Linked DNA regions of Homo sapiens: regions 2 and 3 are each linked to region 1. Evidence: promoter capture Hi-C in human tissues and cell types (Jung and others, 2019). All regions are on one chromosome and are shown on one strand. Each heading gives the region's core, a stretch centred on a gene start or on the middle of the fragment in contact. The rest is flanking DNA. Distances are from core to core; before and after follow the strand shown. Region 1 holds the start of UQCRC1 (ubiquinol-cytochrome c reductase core protein 1). Region 2 overlaps ZNF589 (zinc finger protein 589). Region 3 holds the start of CAMP (cathelicidin antimicrobial peptide).

Evidence for each region. Contacts are between HindIII fragments. The study calls those that stand out against the background at their distance.
Region 2: a contact is called between a fragment that was not itself captured here and the fragment with the promoter of UQCRC1 in region 1, in 1 of the 25 tissues and cell types used here (bladder).
Region 3: a contact is called between the fragment with the promoter of CAMP here and the fragment with the promoter of UQCRC1 in region 1, in 4 of the 25 tissues and cell types used here (IMR-90 fibroblasts, lymphoblastoid cells, small bowel and 1 more).

What each region holds. Positions count from the first base shown.
Region 1 is chr3:48,608,048-48,612,157 of GRCh38, forward strand. UQCRC1 (ubiquinol-cytochrome c reductase core protein 1) reads right to left here and starts at 1,599. Exons shown (of 13, transcript NM_003365.3): 1 at 1,505-1,599; 2 at 1,115-1,255. The coding sequence starts at 1,573. RefSeq lists a silencer at 1,220-1,319 and enhancers at 1,490-1,589, 1,669-2,183, 1,880-1,989. The HindIII fragment of the contact is 22,312 bases long and covers 1-4,110 here.
Region 2 is chr3:48,246,035-48,249,732 of GRCh38, forward strand. ZNF589 (zinc finger protein 589) reads left to right here. Exons shown (of 4, transcript NM_016089.3): 2 at 1,591-1,643. Among named protein-coding and RNA genes, the nearest start is that of ZNF589, 6.8 kb to the left of the region's middle. The HindIII fragment of the contact is 4,289 bases long and covers 1-3,545 here.
Region 3 is chr3:48,222,134-48,226,224 of GRCh38, forward strand. It overlaps CAMP (cathelicidin antimicrobial peptide), which reads left to right and starts at 1,362. Exons shown (of 4, transcript NM_004345.5): 1 at 1,362-1,579; 2 at 2,221-2,328; 3 at 2,470-2,541; 4 at 3,160-3,352. The coding sequence starts at 1,379. The coding sequence ends at 3,291. RefSeq lists enhancers at 707-826, 847-976, 987-1,036 and a silencer at 1,046-1,340. The HindIII fragment of the contact is 5,660 bases long and covers 207-4,091 here.

The sequences.
Region 1 (4,110 bases), core at 349-2,848:
CTGGCCTCAGCTGATCCGCCTGCCTTGGTCTCCCAAAGTGCTGAGATTACAGGTGTGAGCCTCCAGGCCTGGACCCATTAAGTAGTTTCTCATCATCCACCCCTTCATCCTTCCAAGTCTTCACTGTCCATCATTCCACTCTCTACATCTGTATGTACGTATTTTTTAGCTCCCACTGATAAGTGAGAACATGTGATATTTGCTTTCCTAAGAGATGTCAATGCATATACCATATATCACACAATCTTAGATGAACATGTATTTCACATCTAACATCTTGGAATGCAAGAGGCATTTTACAATCTATAGTATCCTTTGATTAAAATTGGCAAGATTCTTGAGATTCTTTCTCTGGCACTGGAGCACAGACAGCTCCTTACAATCTAGCACATTTTAGAGTTCATGTAATATAGCATTCTTTACTATAACAAGTGACATATAACAAGGAAGTTGCAGGCCACCTTTTCCTATGCTTAGTAACAATTTAAATCGCAGGACATTGTTTCTGGAAAACTAAAAGGATGTGTCAATAAAAACATCTGGCCCTGGGGCTGGGGGCTGAAAGGAGGAGGAGATAATTATTTCTTGGGAATCTTCTCACCTATTCATATATCTATCTGTGACTCAAGATTTCTTGTGTCAATTTAGAGAATTTGTATTTTTTGGAAAATCACACATTTCATTGTACTGTTAAAATGCATTTGCTTCCTAAAATGTATTTCTGGTCTAGCCTGGAGATTATGACCTTGGGCAGTGAGGCTGACAGACCTGGACCCCTGCAAGTCACCTAAGGTGTCTGAATCCCATTTTCCGCATTATAAGAGGAGACATGATCACTTCCCTTATATGGGCTCCTTAACAAAAGGCTGGAAAAGAATTTGGCCGCCTACTTAACGGGCATTATATGCTAAATAATGTTGGCTTATAGTGAAGATTGTCCCGTGAAGCCAAGGCGTGGCTAGGGTAGGGAATGGGGCCATTCTCGGGGTGAGTGGTCCTGGGTCCGAACCCAAACCACAAACGGGAAGACTCGAGCCCAAGGTCACACCCCAACCAGGGAAAAGACGGCAGGCCCAACCTGGAGGCCCTCTCCCCAAAAGCGTCCCCAACTCACCGTGCAAGTGGGCTGAGAGGACTGCTCGGAGGCCACACGCAGGCCGTTGTCCAGCAGGCTAACCTGCGTCTCCGGCACGAACTGGAGCGCCTGAGCGAAGGTTGCCGTACTCCGCAAGGCTGGCGTCCGCAGCAGGGCCGGCTGTGGAAGGGAACAGCCGCGAGTGAGGACTCGGTCAGGGGATCGCTCCCCACCTCCCAGGTCCTCAGGAGGACCCCCGAACCCCGCCCCTAGGCAAGCGGCGAGATACCTTTCCCCGCCCTCCGCCGTGACCTTCCCACGGCCCTGACCCCGCGTCCTCCCCACCTCGACCTGCCACTGCTAACAGCCCACACCTGTCCGCTTCCCGAAGCCCTGTCCCGAAGCCCCGCGCTCTCGCCACCACCTCACCGAGCGGCGGGCGCGCAATAGCACTTGTGCCCCGGCGGTAGCGGCCCGACAGACCACGGACGCCGCCATCTTCCAGCTGCAGTCGGCCCTGTTGCGCCGCGCAAGCGTAGACTGGGCGCGTTGGCGGTCGCGGCGCAGGCGCAGTACCGTACAGTTGGTGCTCGGCCGCCTCCTGGCGGGAACCGGGACAGTCTATTGTGCTGGCCTGGCTTTGGCTGACTGGCTCTGACCGCGCTGCCGCCAGTCCCTGCGCACATCAGTCCACCTGCCGTCCATCAGCCCGAGCAGGTCCGCCCGCCGTGCAGTCCATCTCCCCATTCCACGCGTGGAAGTCAGAGTGCATTATGTTTCTCACCAGCCGCGCTGCGTACTGAGGTCTGGCGGGCGGGGAGTTGCAGCCACAGCGTGTCCGCAGGTTCGAGCCCAGGGCTAAAGTACCAGCGTGGAAACTTACCTGGGACCACAAGTTGGTGCTGAAAGTCAGTATTTTTTTCTCTTTATTTATTTTTTATTTTCTGAGACAGGGTCTCGCTCTGTCGCCCAGGCTGGAGTGCAATGGCGCGATCTCGGCTCACTGCAACCTCCGCCTCCCGGCTTCAAGCGATTCTCCTGCCTCAGCCTCCCGAGTAGCTGGGATTATGCCCGGTAATTTTTGTTTCTTTAGAAGAGACAAGGTTTCTCCATGTTGGCCAGTTTTGCGCCCTGCCAGTTTTCTCTTTAAAAGAACTAAGTACAGGCCGGGAGCGGTGGCTCACTCCTGTAATCCCAACACTTTGGGAGGCCGAGGCAGGTGGATCACTTGAGGCGAGGAGTCCAAGACCAGCCTGGCCAACATGGTGAAACCTTTCCTTTTCTGTAAGAGGAAAAAGAATTCTGGCTGGGTGCAGTGGCTCATGCCTGTAATCCCAGCACTTTGGAAGGCCGAGGTGGGCGGATCACCTGAGGTCGGGAATTTGAGACCAGCCTGACCGACATGGAGAAACCCCGTCTCTACTAAAAATACAAAAGTAGACGGGCGTGGTGGCGCATGCCTGTAATCCTAGCTACTCCAGAGGCTGAGGCAGGAGAATCACTTGAACCCGGGAGGCGGAGGTTGCGGTGAGCCGAGATCGCGCCATTTCCAGCCTGGGCAACAAGAGCGAAACTCCGTCTCAAAAAAAAAAAAAAAAAAAAAAAAAGACTTCTAAGGTATGCTTTGTTATGTCAACTAAAGAAAAAAAAAAACAAGCTTTTAAATATTTAAAGTTAGTTCTATTCAGAAGTCTTACCAAGAATTGCAACCCGGGAGAGCCTTTCAGGGAGTTTCTGCTAGACTGCTCCAAAGCAGTGTTTCCGACAGTTTATACACTGGTGGTGGCGGCTCTCCATGTGCTCAGAAATTACATCAAATGTGCTCAGAAGTTACATTAGAGCATAAATCTCATCAAGGTTTGGGTGCAAGAGTACATCTGTTTATAGGTCACAGAAGCATAATCATTAATCCTGTCAGACAGTATCTTAAGTACAGGAAGAGGCAAGGGCTAGGATCATTGCATTTTTTACCATGTTGGCCAGGCTGATATCAAACTCCTGGCCTCAAGCAATCCACCCACCTCAGCCTCCCAAAGTGCTAGGATTACAGGGGTGAGCCACCACACCTTACCCAAAAACTACTCTTATACTTAAAATAAAACTATCTTTATAAAAATCATGCCAGATGCCATGACCACAGGCTCTCACACCACACCCAGCTAATTTTTTTTTATTTTTTGTGGAGACGGGGGTCTCATTATGTTGCCCAGGCTGATCTTAAACTCCTGAGCTCAAGTGATCCTCCTACCTCAGCCTCCCAAAGTGCTGGGATTACAGTCATGAGCCACCGTGCCAGGCTGACTTTATTTCTTATAAAGGGTTACAACCTGCAGGCTGGGAGGTGGGCTTCTGGTCAAAACCAGAGACAGACCCTTAAAAAGAGGCAGGAGCTTTATGTCGAATGGCTTGGCTAAACATACATATTCGGCCGGGCACGGTGGCTCACACCTGTAATCCCAAACTTTGGGAGGCCGAGGTGGGCGGATCACAAGGTCAGGAGATTGAGACCATCCTGGCTAACATGGTGAAACCCCGTCTCTACTAAAAATACAAAAAATCTGCCAGGCATGATGGCATGTGCCTATAATCCCAGCTACTCGGGAAGCTGAGGCAGAAGAATCGCTTGAACCTGGGAGGCGGAGGTTGCAGTGAGCCGAGATCGCGCCACTGCACTCCAGCCTGGGTGACAGAGCGAGACTCTGTCTCAAAAAAGAAAAAACAAAAACAAAAAATACCATATTCAACAGGTTACAGGAAGAGCTATAGATACTCATGAAGGGGGTCCTAATGCAAGTATACTGAATAAACATGTGTGTTGTATATGACCCATGTTCACTTTGGGGTGGAGACTTAACATTGAAATACATTACAGGCCGGGTGCGGTGGCTCACGCCTATAATCTCAGCACTTTGGGAAGCCGAGGTGGGTGGCTCACGAGGTCAGAAGATCAAGACCATCCTGGCCAACACAGTAAAACCCCGTCTCTACTAAAAATACAAAAATTAGCTGGGCGTGGTGGCGTATGCCTGTAGTCC
Region 2 (3,698 bases), core at 151-2,650, 360 kb before region 1:
AGGCGTCGTGGGTCATGCCTATAATCCCAGCACTTTGAGAGGCCAATGTGGGCAGATCACTTAAGGTCGGGAGTTCGAGACCAGCCTAGCCAGCATGGTGAAACCCCCATCTCTACAAAAAATACAAAAATTAGCTGGGCATGGTGGTGCATGCCTGTAATCCCAGGGAAGTTGAGGTGGGAGGATCACTTGAGCCCAGGAGGTGGAGGTTGTAATGAGCAGAGATTGTGCCACTGCATTCCAGCCTGGGCAATAGTGAGACCCTATCTCAATCAATCAATCAATCAATCAGTTCCACAATAATTTGAAGAGGAATGAGAGTCTGACAAGCTGCGCTTTAGAAATGCTGTTGTAATGGTCTTTAATACTTTTTTCTCCTTTTACTCATGCTCTTTTGTAAAATAAGGAATAACATTGACAAGTTTTTAAAACAATATAATAATTATTATTTTTATTATTAGAGATGTGGGTCTCATTGTCACCCAGGCTGGTCTTGAAGCCGTGGATTCAAGTGATCCTCCCACCTCAGCCTCCCAAAGTGTTAGGATTACAGGCGTGAGCCACTGAAACCGGCCTGACACATTTTTAAAAAATATTTTCATTAAATCACAGACTTCTGTTTCTGTGTTTAACATTTTCTTTTTTTTTTCTTGAGACGGAGTCTCGCTCTGTCGCCCAGGCCGGAGTGCAGTGGTGCGATCTCGGCACACTGCAAGCTCTGCCTCCCGGGTTCATGCCATTCTCCTGCCTCAGCCTCCTGAGTAGCTGGGACTACAGGTGCCCGCCACCACACCCAGCTAATTTTTTGTATTTTCAGTAGAGATGGGGTTTCACTGTGTTAGTCAGGATGGTCTCGATCTCCTGACCTTGTGATCGGCCTGCCTCGGCCTCCCAAAGTGCTAGGATTACAGGCGTGAGCCACCGCGCCTGGCCTAACATTTTCATAAACTATTTTCGAGATGGAGTTTTGCTGTTGCCCAAGCTGGAGTGCAGTGGCGTGATCTCTGCTCACTGCAACCTTCGCCCCCTGGGTTCAAGCGATTCTCCTGCCACAGCCTCCTGAGTAGCTGGGATTATAGGCGTGCACTACCATGCCTGGCTAATTTTTTTATTTTTAGTGGAGTTGGGGTTTCTTTGTCATGTTGGTCAGACTGGCCTCAAACTCCTGACCTCAAGTCATCTGCCTGCCTCGGCCTCCCAAAGTTCTGGTATTATAGGCGTGTGCCACTGTGCTCGGTCCATTTTCATAAATTAAAAAAAAACATGTAACTAGAGTCACATAACACATGGGGGGAAATGATGCCTTGTCTCAACAGTTTTGCTAATTTTTAGGGTAGAAAGATGATGAGTGCTTAGAGTTTACCTTACTACATTTAATTAAGATCAGTGTTTCTGTAAAAATGTAATAGGGAAGTGGTGCAGAGCATAGAGAAGTTGACTCAAGCATAAGGCAGGAGGTGAGAGGAGCTCAGGGTCTGGGTCAGCTGAGAAGGCTCAGGTGGCCACAGCCAAGGCTCAGAGGGCTCTTGGGGATCCTCATGATGGGCCTGGTAGGGCTGGCTTCTCAAGGTTGCTTCTTTCTTTCCCCAGCTCTGCCTGCCAAGGATTCTGCCTGGCCCTGGGAAGAGAAGCCTAGATATCTGGTGAGTTGGGCCCGCCCTTCTCTTTTCTGAAATGCTGGCTCATTTCTCAGAGAATGGGCTCATCTGTCTTTCTTGGGAAGGGAGGAAGTGATTAACATTTAAGTGGTTTATGCCTTGTGTTAGCCATTGTTCTAGGCTTATTATAATGGTTTTTGCACTTAGTCTTTCTATTTTTTGAGCTTATACAAAAACATGACCAAGTTTAATTTTAATTCAGAGTATTCTAAAATATAATGGTAACTTTTTATAAAAACCTTGGGTTATTAAGATCCTAAAATGCACTATTAAAGTTCCCTACATCAACATTTGCACAAATAGTTATAACACTTTAATAGTATCTAATAGTCTGATCTTGTACATTGGACCTCTTTTTCACATTTTGTTTTAGAAAACAAAGATGCAAAAGTAGAAAAAGAGTTAACTCTTCTGTATCCATCATCCCACTTCAGCAGTTATCAACTCATGGCCAATTTTATTTCATCTCCATTCCCACTGGATTAAAGAAAATCCAAGGCATCATACCATTTAATCCATAAATATTTCAGTCCTGTGTTTAAATCATTAACAGCTGTAGGAGATGGGTGGTGACATCCCCATTTTCGAGATGAGATCATCTGGCTTAGAGGGATTACGTGATTTATGCACAGGGACACGTGGATGGCCAAATGGTAGAGTCAGGAATTAAATCCAGATTTCTCTGATCTCAAACCATGAATTTTCTGTGATGCCTTCTTGACTGTTTTTTTCTCCTAGAAAACTACCCAATGATAAAAGAACACACTTTCCAACTCTACGAAATGGGGTTATGTTTTGGATGAAGAGCCTCATAGAGTTCACCCCCTTGTTCTGATGTTGCATATCCCTCTCCCCCAACCCCTGTGATCTTTGCTATACCAGAAATTTAATTTATTGGTTTCTGGGCACAGGACTGTGTGAGATTCTGGGAGCTAGCCAAATAGAGTTGTTAAATTCACTGTCCTTATTCTCAAAGATCCAAGATTCTTTAGGAAATGATGCATAGAGACAGGAAATAATGACACTGGTAATAATTATGATGAAGACAGCTAAAACTGTAAAATAGTACAGGGAAAGACTAAGTGTTAGCCTGTAGCTGTTAAAACAATGCACAGCCACAAAGAATGGTCTTAGGTTTGGATTGATAATCAAATTCATGGTATGCAATGTACTTTAACCCTGCATTAAATTCGCGTAGCTTCATGAAGGGATAGAGTATAGGAGACATAGTAGGCACACCATTCTTCTCAGGAGGTTTTGTACCAGTCTCTAGGGCAGCTTCCAGGCCATAGGGGCCAAGCTTGATTGATACAGATGAGGGTGACTTGGGAGCAAATTACTTCATTATCAGGGAAGCAGCTGCCTTTATCCTTTATTTTCCCGTATTCCCTTCTCTGCCCCAACCTTTTTTTTTCTTTTTTTTTTTTGAGACAGAGTTTCGCTCTTGTCGCCCAGGCTGGAGTGCAATGGCATGATCTCGGCTCACTGCAACCTCCGCCTCCTGGATTCAAGCGATTCTCCTGCCTCAGCCTCCTGAGTAGCTGGGATTACAGGCACGCACCACCACACACAGCTAATTTTTGTATTTTTAGTAGAAACAGGGTTTCACCATGTTAGCCAGGCTGGTCTCGAACTCCTGACCTCAGGTGATCTGCCTGCCTCGGCCTCCCACAGTGCTGGGATTATAGGCATGAGCCACTGCGCCCGGCCCATCTTATGTTTTCATGCGCTTCAGAGTAAGTTGCAGATCTCAATACATTTCACCTCTGAATACTTCAGCATGCATATTATTAAGTAGAATTCAATATCGTTTCTGATTTTTTTCTGAGGTAAAATGTACATACAGTGAAATGCACAAATTTTGAGTTTACCTTTTGAGTTCAGCACTTCTATAGCTATTCGTTAGGCATTCACATAGCTTCCTTTTTTTGATGTGTCTGTTCAAAGTTTTGACACATTTAAAACAATTTATGATTGACATATAATGTTTGTACCTTTTTATGGGGTACAATGTGATGTTTTCACACATGTATACCTTGC
Region 3 (4,091 bases), core at 112-2,611, 390 kb before region 1:
AGTCAAGGAGGCCCAGTGGGGACAACCGGGACGTTCATGGGAGTCTCGAACTCAGAGATACAGACTGGGTGGTGTCTGCCTATTATAACTGGTGTCCTGGGAGAGGGCGTCCCCAGGGAAACCCGAGGCCAGGGAAGAGAAGCAGCCCAGGAGGTGACCCCACACGCTCTCAATATTAAGAAGACAGCCCTTAGGGGAGACCAAGAAGGAGCCACCAGGGAGGCAGGAGGGACAGCAGGAGAGTGGCATCAGGGGAGACCGGGGCAGCAAGAAGGAAGGCTCACCAGTGCCTGTGCAGACAAAGACCAGGCTTGAGGGTGGCCATGGACCAAGGGTGGGTTGGCCAGCCTTCAGTGGCCTTCAGCATGAAGAAGAGTGAAAAGATGGGGTCAAGAAGCGTAGACAACCTTTCCTAAGACTTGGCTTGGGAGAAGCCATGGTGAAAGGCCATGTCTGGAGGGGCTTGGGAACATTTTGAGACTGAAAAAAACAGTGAAGAAGGATGCAGAAGGGGATAGATGGAGCAGAGCCTTCGTCTGGCTGACGGCTGGGTCCAGAGAGCATGTGGTATGGCCTTGAACTGAAAGGGCAACTTGTCCCTTGCAAGAGTGAGTCTCTAGGTTGGGGGTGGCTACTGTCTTCATTTACCAGTTCTTTTTTTTTTTTTTCATACTGAGTCTCACTCTGTTACCCAGGCTGGAGTGCAGTGGCATGATCTCAGCTAACTGCAACTTCTGCTTCCCGGGTTCAATGGGTTCAAGTGATTCTCATGCCTCAGCTTGTAGCTGGGACTACAGGTGTGAGCCATCATGCGTGGCTAATTTTCATATTTTTAGTAGAGATGGGGTTTCACCATGTTGGCCAAGCTTGTCTCGAACTCCTTATCTCAGGTGATCCGCCCACCTTGGCCTCCCAAAGTGCTGGGATTATAGGCGTGAGCCACCGTGCCCTGCCTCATTCATCAATTCTTAATCGATGCCTACAGGGTGCCAGGCAATGCCTAGAGCTGGAGATTTAGCAGTCCATCATACTGACTCCTGAGGAGTAGAAGGATGTAGAATAGGCACCTGGCTCTCTTCCTCTCTGGAGGGATTTAACGCTCTTGAGCACCCCTGGCTATGACAATCTCCGGTCAGGTCTGGGAGGTTGTCAGAGATGAAGAAACCACTTCCTCATCTTGCACACAAGGAAGGCCTCACTCACTGCCCAGCAAGTCCTGTGAAGCAATAGCCAGGGGCTAAAGCAAACCCCAGCCCACACCCTGGCAGGCAGCCAGGGATGGGTGGATCAGGAAGGCTCCTGGTTGGGCTTTTGCATCAGGCTCAGGCTGGGCATAAAGGAGGCTCCTGTGGGCTAGAGGGAGGCAGACATGGGGACCATGAAGACCCAAAGGGATGGCCACTCCCTGGGGCGGTGGTCACTGGTGCTCCTGCTGCTGGGCCTGGTGATGCCTCTGGCCATCATTGCCCAGGTCCTCAGCTACAAGGAAGCTGTGCTTCGTGCTATAGATGGCATCAACCAGCGGTCCTCGGATGCTAACCTCTACCGCCTCCTGGACCTGGACCCCAGGCCCACGATGGTGAGCTTTGGGGGACATTCTGCTCTGCTCTGGCTGGGCTTGGCCACGTGTTGTTCCTTCTGCTCCTGCTGCACTGCCTGCCAGGAGGGCATCTCCCCCTTTAAATGTGGTCCCGTGTTTTCCAGGGAACCTTCTAGAGCTCGTGTCTCCTCCCAGCTCGAGAGCTTCCTGCCTTATAATTCCTGCTGTGGCAGAGATACCCTCACCCCGACCCCACGCAGGTTTTGGGACTTCTGCGAGCTCCAGGCACTAGAATGGGGTCATTGGCTCTGGGCAGTGACCTCCTCTGCTTTAAGTCTCTTCTGTACCACGTTACCCCACATAGGGAAGAACTCTATCCAGACTTTAGGTTCCAGTGGGCATGTCTTGTCCCCCAGGAAGCCCCCTGACTTCCCTTGCCCCCACCCCAGAGTGGGAGGGGCTCCTTGTTAGAGCTCATCTGAGGTCTGCTCCTACTCACTGTTCACCTAGGAGGGTAGGAATGGCTCAGTCCTCCTCCCCTCAATGCCCCAGTGCCAAGCCCAGCACCCAGTGCCCGTCGCACATCAGGTACTGTGGAAAGCCTGCCCTCTTGGTGGGGAGGTCATGGACACAAATCAGAAAATACAAGAATGGGCCTCCCCATTTCCTCCTCTGACTAGGATGGGGACCCAGACACGCCAAAGCCTGTGAGCTTCACAGTGAAGGAGACAGTGTGCCCCAGGACGACACAGCAGTCACCAGAGGATTGTGACTTCAAGAAGGACGGGGTGAGGCTGGGGGCTGGGGGTGTTGGTGGGTGCCTCCCAAGGAGCTGAACAGGGGGCACCTGGGGAATATTTCCCACTGGGATGTGGCTGGGAGGTCATGGCAAATGGTTTCAAGTTTGACCTTGAGCTTCTCCTTTCCAGCTGGTGAAGCGGTGTATGGGGACAGTGACCCTCAACCAGGCCAGGGGCTCCTTTGACATCAGTTGTGATAAGGTGAGTGGGCTGTTCTGGGATGCAGGGGCTGATGGGGGCATAGAGTGTGGACCATCCAATGGGTCAATTAACTACTCCCCCAACCCAGGACAGAGAAAGCCCCTCCTACCCAGGGCTCTTCCCCAAACCTGAGTTCCATCTCCAGGGCCGGCTCTGGAATCCCTTAGAGCGGTAGATCTCCAAGTGTAGCCCTTCCTGGGGACTCGTTAGATATGCAAATTCTCAGGCCCTACTCAGACCTACTCAGACAGACTCTGGGTAGGGCCCAGAAATTCGTATTTTGATAAGCTTTCCAGGAGATTCCGGCTTCTGTAAAGTTTGAGAGCCACTGTCTAAGAGTACTCAGCTCTCAGCCCTGTGTTCCCATCTCAGTGTTGCTGGGCTGGGCTGTGTGACCCTGCAGAGCCCCTCACTATCTCCGGGACTCTGTTTTCTCATCTTTTTATTGGGTGTAGGGATTCAATCACATGCTTCAAAGGTCACAGCCAGAGGTTGAACTGGGGCCCCAAAGCTCCTGCGGGGGCCCACGAAGAGGGGCGTCTAGGTGGGGAGGGGTCTTGGATTGACCCTGGGTACATCCCCGACAAGGAACCTGTTTCTTCCTGTACACAACCCCAGGATAACAAGAGATTTGCCCTGCTGGGTGATTTCTTCCGGAAATCTAAAGAGAAGATTGGCAAAGAGTTTAAAAGAATTGTCCAGAGAATCAAGGATTTTTTGCGGAATCTTGTACCCAGGACAGAGTCCTAGTGTGTGCCCTACCCTGGCTCAGGCTTCTGGGCTCTGAGAAATAAACTATGAGAGCAATTTCCTCAGGCTTCAGTCTCACTTGTTTTGCCTCCTCTCTCTCACCACAACTGAGCCCTTAGCTCAGGGAGTCCACGTGTGAGTGTGAGTGTGTGTGAGTGTGACACAGAGGTGGCGAGGGCAGTGTTCCATCCAGGAGGACACAGGGTAAGGCAGTAGGGCCAAGAGATCCAAGATGGCATTCCCATTCTCAGTGGAACCCCCAGTGGGGAATTAAGGAGCTCTACTCTGTGTGTGGTGGTGGGGGAATGCTGTGGAGCTGTTCCTGCTCATGGGGAGGTGACATTCAAGGGAGGGGCCAAGCGTGTTGTTAACACTCAGAGAAGCATGGTCCAGTCCCATGGGTGGCTGGCCAACTGGGTGCGGTCTCCCTGCAGGTACAATTCCCATAAAATTCCAATGCTTCCTAAAAGACTTAACTCAGGAAAGCCCATAACTCCTGGCATTTCCTCTGGCATTGGGACACATCACAGTTTCTTCAGGTGGGTAGCAGATTTAACTTGTGAGCTTGTGTTTAGGGATTGTTAAAAACAAGAATATGGCCAGACGTGGTGGCTCACACCTGTAATGCCAGGACTTTGGGAAGCGAGGCGGGTGGATTGCTTGAGGTCAAGAGTTTGAGACCAGCCTGGGCAACATAACAAACCCTGTCTCTACTAAAAATACAAAAATGAGCTGGGCATGGTGGTGCGTGCCTGTAGTCCCAGCTACTCGGGAGGCTGAGGTGGGAGGATTGCTTGAGC